Linked DNA regions of Homo sapiens: all the other regions are linked to region 4. Evidence: promoter capture Hi-C in 16 types of primary human blood cells and fetal thymus (Javierre and others, 2016). All regions are on one chromosome and are shown on one strand. The core of a region is centred on a gene start or on the middle of the fragment in contact, and the rest is flanking DNA. Distances in the headings are between cores, read along the strand shown.

The links. Contacts are between HindIII fragments. The CHiCAGO score rates a contact against its expected background, and 5 or more counts as called.
Region 1: a fragment that was not itself captured here is called in contact with the fragment with the promoter of ZNF207 in region 4 in 4 of 17 cell types (M1 macrophages, M0 macrophages, monocytes and 1 more); the score reaches 6.8 in M1 macrophages.
Region 2: a fragment that was not itself captured here is called in contact with the fragment with the promoter of ZNF207 in region 4 in 1 of 17 cell types (erythroblasts); the score reaches 6.5 in erythroblasts.
Region 3: a contact is called between a fragment that was not itself captured here and the fragment with the promoter of ZNF207 in region 4, in 4 of 17 cell types (M1 macrophages, M2 macrophages, monocytes and 1 more). The highest score is 7.9, in M1 macrophages.

What each region holds. Positions count from the first base shown.
Region 1 is chr17:32,174,288-32,176,987 of GRCh38, reverse strand. RHOT1 (ras homolog family member T1) reads right to left here. Exons shown (of 20, transcript NM_001033566.3): 4 at 1,626-1,669; 5 at 973-1,026; 6 at 775-827. Among named protein-coding and RNA genes, the nearest start is that of RHOT1, 33 kb to the right of the region's middle. The HindIII fragment of the contact is 1,327 bases long and covers 732-2,058 here.
Region 2 is chr17:32,137,998-32,140,697 of GRCh38, reverse strand. No RefSeq gene overlaps it. Among named protein-coding and RNA genes, the nearest start is that of RHOT1, 3.2 kb to the left of the region's middle. The HindIII fragment of the contact is 876 bases long and covers 813-1,688 here.
Region 3 is chr17:32,192,509-32,195,208 of GRCh38, reverse strand. RHOT1 (ras homolog family member T1) reads right to left here. Exons shown (of 20, transcript NM_001033566.3): 10 at 1,965-2,073; 11 at 1,102-1,222. Among named protein-coding and RNA genes, the nearest start is that of RHOT1, 51 kb to the right of the region's middle. The HindIII fragment of the contact is 5,090 bases long and covers 1-2,700 here.
Region 4 is chr17:32,348,863-32,351,562 of GRCh38, reverse strand. ZNF207 (zinc finger protein 207) reads right to left here and starts at 1,406. Exons shown (of 12, transcript NM_001098507.2): 1 at 1,237-1,406. The coding sequence starts at 1,277. MIR632 (microRNA 632) reads right to left here and starts at 1,454; the gene lies at 1,361-1,454. It also overlaps a transcript of C17orf75 not described here. RefSeq lists enhancers at 1,317-1,666, 1,837-1,956. The HindIII fragment of the contact is 13,651 bases long and covers 1-2,700 here.

The DNA of each region.
Region 1 (2,700 bases), core at 146-2,645, 170 kb after region 4:
TTAGCGTTTCAAGGCACAAAAACTTCCAACTAAAAGAGAAATCTAAAAAATTGAGAAAAGGACTAAATGTGTACAATATATAGATATTAGTCTGATTTTCCTATTTAAAAAGATTCAGGCCAGGCACAGTAGCTCTTGCCTGTAGTCCCAGCACTTTGGGAGGCCAAGGCGAGCAGATCATTTGAGGTCATGAGTTCGAGACCAGACTGACCAACGTGCGAAACCCTCTCTACTAAAAAATACGAAAATTAGCCAGGCATGGTGGTACATGCCTGCAGTCCCAGTTACTCAGGAGACTGAGGCATGAGAATCACTTGAATCCAGGAGGCGGAGGCTGCAAGGAGCCAAGATTGTGCTCCTATACTCCAGCCTGGGCGACAGAGCAAGACTCTGTCTCAAAATAAATAAATAAATAAATAAATAAATAAATAAATAAATAAATAAAACTGAGACTTTTCAAGCAGCAGTTTGAGGAAGAGAAATGTAAGATTTATGACCAAAATAATCTGTCTGAAGTTGTGAATCATGATATCAGAGTTCTGTTTCTTGCTTTGCTCTCAAGTATATCTACTGCCTCAAATGAATCCCCCCAAAAAAGGCACGTGGGTGTGTGTATGAACAGACAGAAAAACTGATAGATAAGGCAAACGTGGCAAAACGTTACCTAGTAAATTTAAGTGAAGGATTTAGGGAAGTTCAATGTACTACTTCTTGTACCTTTTCTGCAAGCTTTAAACTTTTTAATTATAAAAAGTTTGAGAGAGGAAAAAATACCTGCTGTCTTTGTCTGTTCTTTCATTTATGAGAGGAATCCATCGACTTGTTACCTAAAATGAAAATTAACAAGCGCTTAGCCATGATAAGGATCTTTACAAAACACTCTTCCCTTAGACCCCTAAAATTCTAAACTGAGAATCAACTTTGGAAGCACTCCACTGAAACCAACTATAGGGAAAAAAAGATCACACCTACCTTATCAATAGAATGCTTGTTGTTAACGGCATACACTATACAGATGACATTAGCCTAGAAGAAAAATTAACAAATTAATCGTATCTAAAAATAATAAAAACATAGACAGCACTTAATTAGCAACTTATTAATATATTCGGGTGAAAGGAAGAAAAAATTTAACAGCTAAAACAAAAAAACAAAAAAAGAATTAGCTTGCCTCTAAGAGAAAATGTTCCTAAGGACTTAAAGCAAAAACACATACTCAGTAACAGCCATAACAATAAAGAACTGCAAAAGAACTTTTGGTAATTAAGAGAATGAAAAAGGGACGGGGTGTATCACTTGAGGGCAGGAGTTTGAGACTAGCCTGGTTAACATGGCAAAACCCCATCTCTACTAAAATACAAAAATTAGCTGGGCATGGTGGTGCATGCCTGTAATCCCAGCTACTTGGGAGGCTGAGGCATGAGAATCGCTTGAGCCTGCGAGATGGAGGTTGCGATAAGGCAAAATTGCGCCACTGCACTGGGTGACAGAGTGGGTGACAGAGTGAAACACGGTCCCAAAAAAAACACAAAAACCAACAAACAAAGAGAATGAAAAAGGCAGGCTCATAAAATCATCACTGTTTTTCTACACAAAACCCCACACCTCTGTTTTTTAAAGCTCACCTGAGATATTTCTTGATGAAGTTGTTCATCACTCTGTTCTGCTTCTACAAATGACAGGAAGTCAATGTTTCATATTGCAGACACTTTCATAAAAACTAATGGCCAAGCTAAATTCTATGCAACACTCATCTAACATCCCTCAAAATGACATGGTGTAGCAAACACAAGGGAAAGCCAGGGGAAGGAAAAGGTTCAACTACGATAAGGCAGCTGGCCCTGAAAGACGAGTCTATAAAAGGATAACTCAGGCATGGAACAGCAGAAGCATTGTGTAATAAATCTAGGCCAGCATCTGGTCCAGAGTTGAAAAGGGTCAGGCAAAGGACTTCAGAAATCCAAGCTAGCAGACTGGGTGCTGAAGAGTCAGAAGCTCGGACAAAGAGTCTATACACACAGGATCAAAAGGCAGGTGAGATTCTGGGTAATACAAGCTTAAGATCTAGATAGCAGGTGGGAGTAATAATAACCAAGACCCAGAGGCAAAACTGTAGCTTGATAATGAAGTGATGAGAATTCCCTCTCTAGCATGTATCTTTAGCTAGAACTGGTCTCAATGGGTGGGTGTGCCTGCAATTCCACGCATGCAGGGATATGAATGATATAGCTAGGATAGAAAGCAAATAATTGAAGAGCAAAGCAATTACTGGCATACTGATTTAGACCACCTTAGGTTACATATATCTTCCCCTAAAAATGCCTGTTACTTCTGACATATAAACTAATATCATACATGAATTCAATGGTATTTTATACTATGCTAAATAACAGGCCATATTTTTAATATCTTTCCATATGTTAAGTAATCAATGGGTTAAGGCTTCAATTCTAATACTGAGGTGAATCTAATTATATGGCTACACATATTGAAGAATAATTCTGTAAATAAATCTAGTTATGAGACTGATTGTAGCAGAAGTCATTCACCTCCCTCAGCTTTCAGTACAGTGCTGTCCAACATACAGATAATGCAAGCCACATACATAGTTTTCAATTTTTTAGTAGCAACCTTTAAAAAGGTAAGTAAAAAAGGTAAAATTAAATTTTCATTTAACCCAAAATATCAAAAGTATTTAAA
Region 2 (2,700 bases), core at 1-2,500, 210 kb after region 4:
TAGATGTAAATAAGGTGCTTTCATCTCCCTCCTCCCCCCACACCTCAATGAGTGGAAATGTGAAATTCAGGAGGCTTGGTTACCTGATCTTTCAGGGAAAAGTAGCCCTCAGAATTTTAGTGTTACAAAATGTTTGAGTTGGAAGAACCCTGACAGAGCTCCTATTCCAATCCCGTTACTCTGTAGATAAAAAAAAAAAAGCAAGGCCCACAGAGACGCAATGACCTGGCACAGACGGCATGGCTGAGGCTGAGCTTTGCTCTGCCATTCCTAGTGCATGACTCTAGGCAACTCATGTCACCTAGTTGTGCCTCAGTTTCCTCTCTACCAAGTGAAGGCTGTGATCTCTTATGAAATTGTTTGGAGGAGCTCATAAAATAATGTATTTTATGTGAATAATGTAATGAATTGTAAATCTTTTTCCTAAAAAACAAACAAACAAAAAACAAGTTACACAAATATCAGAGCACAGAGGACAAAAGCCTTTTACAGAGGGGCAAATTCTTTAGGGCACTGCTTGCACCATGCAGCTTTGTGAAGAATCTAGATCCCTAAGAGCTCTCAATCAGCGTTGCCAGTTAATGACAATGTTGACTCATTGGGGCTTCTCCAGGAGGGTGAGCAGTAACAAGGTCTTCGTGGGGTTGTAGATGTGTACTGGGTAATGTCTGGTAGGCAGGGGCTTGGAAAAAGCATTTATTTAGAGGGACATCACAGATACAATATTGCAAAGAACTCCTTTGTAAATAAAACTTACTTAAAAATCCATATCCAGCCAGGTATGGTGGTTCAACACCTATAATCCCAAAGCTTGGGGTAGCTGCGGTGGGAGGATCTCTTGAGGCCAGGAGTGCAAGACCAGCCTGAGAAACATTGAAACCCCATCTCTACAAAAAATAAACAAATTAGCTGGGCGTGGTGGCATGCACCTGTAGTCCCAGTTGGGAGGCTGAGGTGGGAGGATCACTGGAGACCAGGAGTTGGAGGCTGCAGTGAGCTATGATGGCACCATTGCACTCAAGTCTGGGTGACAGAGCCAGAGTCTGTCTCTAAATAAAAAAAAATAAAAATCTGACTAGGCCGGGCACAATAGCTCACACCTGTAATCCTAGCACCTTGGGAGGCCGAGGCGGGTGGATCACTTGAGCTCAGGAGTTTGAGACCAGCCTGGCCAACATGGTGAAACCCTGTCTCTACTAAAAATACAAAAGTTAGCTGGGCGTGGTGGTGCATGCCTGTAATCCCAGCTATTCGGGAGGCTGAGGCAGGAGAATCGCTTGAACCCAGGAGGTGGAGGTTGTAGTGAGCTGAGATCGCACCACTGCACTCGAGCCTGGGTGACAGAGTGAGACTCCATCTAAAAAAAAAAAACCTAACTCAAGAGCTGCAGAAAAGAGGCAATATCAAGCACTTTCAGTGAGCAATGGATATGGTTTGGTACAAACTGAGGCCAGCACTTGCTAAAGTTGGGGAGAGGGAGTCTGGTATGCCAGGGTTTGCCTCCCCTGCAATGTAAGTTTCTTTCTACAGTCCGCAGCCATCTCCTGATCATCTATACTTCTGCCAGTCTGGCTCCCTGACTTGCCTTGAACTTTATTCCCTCCTTATGATGTTAACAAACGTCCACTAGGTGTCACTCTGATGTTCTCCTGGAGACAGCACAGGTCGCTGGTTAAAGCAGGGAAGCTTGGCTGGGGATGAGAGGATTGCTTGAGCCCAGGAGTTCGAGACCTGCCTGAATAACACAAGGAGACCCTGTCTCTACAAAAAATTTTAAAGAATTAAGCCGCCGTGGCTCACGCCTGTAATCCCAACACTTTGGGAGGCCAAGGTGGGCAGATCACCTGAGGCCAGGAGTTTGAGACCAGCCTGGCCAACATGGCAAAATCCTGTCTTCACTAAAAATACAAAACTTAGCCGGGTGTGGTGGCAGGCGCCTGTAATCCCAGCTATTTGTGAGGCTGAAGCATGAGAATCTCTTGAACGCGGGAGGCGGAGGTTTCAGTGAGCCGAGATCGCATCACTGCACTCCAGCCTGGGGGATTAAGCGAGACTCTGTCTCCAAAAAAAAGAAAACAAAAAAAATTAAAGAATTAATTGGACGTGGTGGTGCACACCTGTAGTCCCAGCTACGTGGGAAGATTGCTTGAGCCTAGGAGGTTGAGGCTGCAGTGAGCTGTGATTGTACCACTGCACTCCAGTCTGGGCCACAGAGTAAGACCCCGTCTCTTAAACAACAACAACAACAAAGACTAAGGATGCTGGAGTCTGCCTGCTAGATCTGAACATCAGTTGTGCCAATTACTAGCTGTGCATCACTGGACAGATTATTTAACTTCTCTTTGCCTCATCTGCCAAATGGGAATAACAATAGGACATACCTCATGAGATTGTTATGAAAATTAAATTAGTTAATATAATAGGAAAGGCTGGGCACAGTGGCTCACGCCTGTAATCCCAGCACTTGGGAGGATGAGGTGGGTGGATCCCTGAGGTCAGGAGTTCGAGACCACCCTGACCAACATGGTGAAACCCTATCTCTACTAAAAATACAAAAATTAGCCAGGCATGGTGGTGGGCACCTGTAATCCCAGCTACTTGGGAGGCTGAGGCACGAGAATCACTTCAACCTGGGAGGTGGAGGTTGCAGTGAGCTGAGATCATGCCACTGCACTCCAGCCTGGGCAACACAGAAATACT
Region 3 (2,700 bases), core at 4-2,503, 160 kb after region 4:
TGGGAGGATTGCTTGAGCCATGGAGTTTGAGGTTGCAGTGAGCTAGCCAAAATGAGACCTTGTCTCTTAGGGAAAAAAAAAAAAGGCCGGGTGCAGTGGCTCACGCCTGTAATCCCAGCACTTTGGGAGGCTGAGGCGGGTGGATCACGAGGTCAGGAGATCGAGACCATTCTGGTTAACACGGTGAAACCCCTTCTCTACTAAATATACAAAAAATTAGCCGGGCATGGTGGCGGGCGCCTGTATTCCCAGCTACTTGGGAAGCTGAGACAGAAGAATCGCTTAAACGCGGTGGGAGGTTGCAGTGAGCCAAGATCGTGACACTGCACTCCAGCCTGGGTGACAGAGCGAGACTCCGTCTGAAAAAAAAAAAAAAAAAAGAAAGAAAAAGAACCACAAATAGACCAGTCGTTTAGGAAAATACCTACTTCAACTTAAGCTAAGAACAGGCTATAAAACTGAGGGAGAAGAACAATGTAAGAAAAATGTGAATCAACATATTTCTGAGATCTCTTGACTCCCAAAACAAGTTTGTTGTCTAGCATCTTATTTTTCCTTCCTCAGTAAAATGAACAAAAAAAGATACTTGTAGTCTCGACAAGAAGAGGAAAAGTTTGAGCCATGAGGGAATCAGTGGTTCTCAACTGGGGATAATTTCACTTCAGAGGGTACATTCGGCAATTTCTCAACAGTTTTGGTTGTCACAACTGGAAGTGTCACTGACATCTACGGATGTGGTAAAGATCCTATACTGCACAGGACATCCACAACAAAAAATTTTCTGGTCCAAAATGCCAATAGTGCTGAGGTTGAGAAATCCTGCTATAAAGCTCTGCTATAATTCTAAAATATTCCCAATTAGCTTGAAGCCCACCTCCCCATGTGTGCTAAATCAACCTTAAAAATATTTAACAAGTAAAATCATTACAAAACCAAAGGTGACTGGGCATGGCTCAATGCCTTTAATCACAGCAATTTGGGAGGCCAAGGTGGGAGGATCACTTGACTCAGGAGTTCAAGACCAGCCTGGGAAACATAGTGAGATCCTGTCTCAATAAAAAATTAAACAACAACAACAACAAAAAAAACAAAGGTACATACAGGGGGAACAAATATTCAGGTGTCAAATCCAGGTCATCATCATAACCAAATCGTCGAAGCACAGTCCAAGTAGTTTCGTGTCTCCCTCTCTGGATAAAAAGTGTGTGTAAAAAGAGAAAACCTGAAATAAAGTAAATTAGTAAATAAAGTGTACAGAGTCACATAGGAGAAAAGCATGTAACATAATGGCAAGAACCAGATTCATGAACATACGGATGCTAGCTTTGCATTGTAAAGCTCAAAACAAAACAAAATTCACAAGTATCTCAATGAAACAGAGCTGATTTCAGAATTGTTTCACATATACACCCAGCTCAGCAAGAGAGAGCACTAGAGGAAATGGCCAACATTGCATCTCAAGGAATATACTGACATGCACAAAGTTATATGAGAGTAGTGTTCTACAGATCTTTGAGCTTATTTTTGTCATGGAAAATTCTGGTTTTCAATCTCATTAACTTCACTGTGCCTCTATAATATATTCTCCAGGGAACATTCTATACTGGTAAATTTGACTCATAGACAAAATTCCCTAAAAATAATGACTATTTAAAGGCTGTTTATGAGTAGGAAGAATTTTAAGATACTTTTTTTTTGTTCCAGATATCTCCTTCCATCAGGTGGACCTCTGTATCCTTGAGATCCAACCAATTTCCCTACCTCTAATTTATATTGGTAGTAAAGATGATAATCCCCAACAATGGCCTGTCCCTCCCAACTCATAAATATCCAAATCAGACTTTAGGCATACTAGTAAATATTAACATTTCCTTAAAGTATAAATAATGCAATAAAGACCTTCACCTTCTGCCAAATTTTGAAAATATTAAGTTTCAAAAGGGGGAAAAATACCATTTACCCACCTTTCAGGGTCAACCCACTGTCAGCCACACCATCACTTATATGTTTTCTGACTACATTCTTGACATCCTCCAGAGCTTGAGGAGCTAATGGAGTGTTGAAACAAATCCTCTAGCAAAAAACATAAAAATATATTTAAAAACAAACCAGCGTTAAAACCACAAATAATATAAAATGATAATCTACAAAGCAATATTAAATCCATGAATTGCAACCAAAGAAACATATTCTACATTAGGAATAGTCACCACTTTTTTAAATGTATTATTTAAGTAAAACATGGGCTGGGTGCAGTGGCTCACGCCTGTAATCCCAGCACTTTGGGAGGCTGAGGCAGGCGGATCACGAGGAGATCGAGTCCACCCTGGCCAACATGGTGAAACCCCGTCTCTACTAAAAATACAAAAATTAGCTGGGTGTTGTGGCGCATGCCTGTAGTCCTAGCTACTTGGGAGGCTGAGGCAGGAGAATCGCTTGAACCCGGGCAGCGGAGGTTGCAGTGAGCCGAGATGGCGCCATTGCACTACAGCCTGGGTGACAGAGCGAGACTCTATCTCAAAAACAAAAAAAAAAAAAAAAAAAGTAAAACATGTCATTCTTAGAAAGAAACATTCCCAACTCCCTCCATCCTGTTTCTAAAACACAGGGCTCTTTCTGTAGCTATGTTATTCAAAACCAAGAAAGCAAAATGATTCAGAGTTCAGACTCCAAGTCATCCTTAACACACCCACTTTATAC
Region 4 (2,700 bases), core at 157-2,656:
ATCTCAATAATCAGCAATATACTTTGTCAAATTCCTGTGTTTAACAGAGATGTCGGTGAAACTTTTGTTATAAATATTTCAACATTTACAAATGCACACTGAGGACAGGAAAGAGTTCAGTTAAGAAATCCCTAAGGTTCTGTCAAGACAATTACTTCACTAGATATGAAGACGATAGCAATAACTGGATTAGGAATTTAGCAATATTTAGAATCTAAGAGTAACTATATGGTGAACAATAATCACATAATTTCGAATGAACAATCCATAAAGTTGTTTCCAATTCCGTATGAATTTATGTTGCCAAGCAATGTATTTAAATTCACAGATCAATAAAATCAATAAAGCAGAATTCTTACATCAATAAAACAGAATTCTTACCTCACTACTCAGATTTTCCTAAAATCACATTACAAAATTCGTAACCGTATTTAAGCTATTTTTAAAACTGTTACATAAACGCAGTACTGTAACAAGCCGCCTTTACGTACAAAACAGTAAATAAAATCAATTTTAATGTAAAGAATATTAACGCTTCCAGAAAAAGCATTAATACCACACTGTAGTAAGAGTTTTCCTAATAAGATAGGCACTTTTTAGTCCTACAAAGTTGGGTAACAGAAACTCCGCCCTGTGAGAACGCTTCCTGAAGATTAAGGCGCCTCTGGGTGAGACACGGAAGCTAGTTCTCCTCCCGCCCCGAAAAGAAAAAAAAAAAAAAAAAGGTTCGAAACCAGGGTTGACTAACTTGGTTCTTTACTAAACCGCCAATTCGAAAAAATAAACACAAAACACACATAAAGTAAATAAAAACAGAAAAAGTGGGTGACAGACTGTGAAGCTGTCCCCAACCCTCCATGAAAGTAATAAGCCTATCGCACTCGAAGAAAAGTCCCTTGTTGAATCGTCACCAAAACAACGGAAGGTGGCTGAATAGTCCCTAGGGGACACTGTCCCTGGCGGAGGGGTCCAGGCCGCCTCCCGGAGTCCAAAATTCGCACCGAACAAGATCCTCCTGAGTCACAGAGTCACACGACCCACAACTGCAAAAGCCTGTCGACCTCGGAACCCCATTTTCCTAGAAGCCTTCCCAAGTCCAATCCCAGCCACCAGGCCACCCACGCAGACGCCTAAATACAAACGCTCCACGCCGTAAGCCAAATCCAGGCCTCCTAGTCCCAGGCCCCAACAACCGGCACCCCAACGCGACCTCGACTTCAAACCGACAAAGGATACCAGCACCACGGCTTCAGCTGCTTCTTCTTCTTGCGACCCATAACTGTGTTCTACCGGCAAAGTAAAAGGGAGGAGAAAAGAAGCAGGAGAAACGAGGCCAAAAATCCCTCACTTTCCCAACCCAACGGCTACCACCACGTCCCACAGGAAGCAGACACAAAATGGCCGACGGCCTCGTTCCCCGCTCCGCCTCCCGTCAAGCACTGCGGTAGGAGGCGGAGCCAAGAAGGGGAGGGTCACATGACGCAGACCTCCGCCCTGAGTGGGTGGGACTAAGAGGCGCGAAGAGGTGGCAGCCATCTTGTCCGTTTCAGAGTTTTTCGCTTTCGCTGGCTGTGCTTGCGGAGCACTTTGGGTTTCATTTGTAAAGGAGCCGGAGCCCCAGGTACGCTAAGGGGCATGCGAATGGAAAACAGAAAACAAAAAAACGGAAAAGATTGCCAGTGCAGTTAGGGCCGATCACAAATAAAGATAGAGACAGCGCCCAATTTTAATTTTGTTTCAATTGAACAGTAAATGTTGATTATGTGCCTATTAAATGCTAAACCAAATAAGTTAGTCTCTGCTTTGTAACTCGCAGATTGGTGACAGACGAGTACACAATGCAGAGTTCTCAGTGCGGCGTTGAGGGAAATGCGAAGTGCTGTAGGACCTCAGAGAGCGGGAGTCCTAGGGCGGCTGTAGTGGTAGTGGTCGTTGGGTTGTCAAGTAAAGTTTTGTTTTTCTTTGTTTTGTTTTATTTTTCTGAGACCAAGTCTCGCTCTGTCTCCCAGGCTGGAGTGCAGCGGCGCGATCTCTGCTCACTGCAACCTCCGTCTCCCGGGTTCAAGCGATTCTCCTACCTCAGCCTCCCGAGTAGCTGGGACTGCAGGCCCGCGCCACCAAGCCCGGCTAATTTTTGTATTTTTAGTAGAATGGGGTTTCACCATGTTAGCGAGGCTGGTCTCGAACTCCTGGGCTCAAGTGATCCGCCCGCCTCGGCCTCCCAAAGTGCTGGATTGCAGGCTTGAGCCGCTGCGCCCGACATAAGAAAGGTTTCTTGAGGAGTCAACGGGAGCAAGCAAGGTGAAGGAAAGGGTATCTCCGTAAGGGAGCAAAGAGTTTAAGTCTTTGAGGCTGGGCACGTGAAAAACTAATCGTGGTAAGACTGGAGCTGATAGCCGGGCGCGGTTGCTCACGCCAGTAATCCCAACACTATGGGCCAAGGCCGAGGCAGGCGGATCACTTGAGGTCAGGAGTTCGAGACCAGCCTGGCCGACATGGTGAAACCCTGTCTCTACTAAAAATACAAAAATTAGCCAGGCGTAGTGGCAGGCGCCTGTAACCTCAGCTACTCGGGAGAATGAGGCAGGAGAATCACTTGGACCTGGGAGGTGAAGGTTGCAGTGAGCCGAGATCTCGCCATTGCATTCCAGCCTGGGTGACAGAGTGAGACTCCGTCTCAAAAAAAAAAAAAAAAGACTG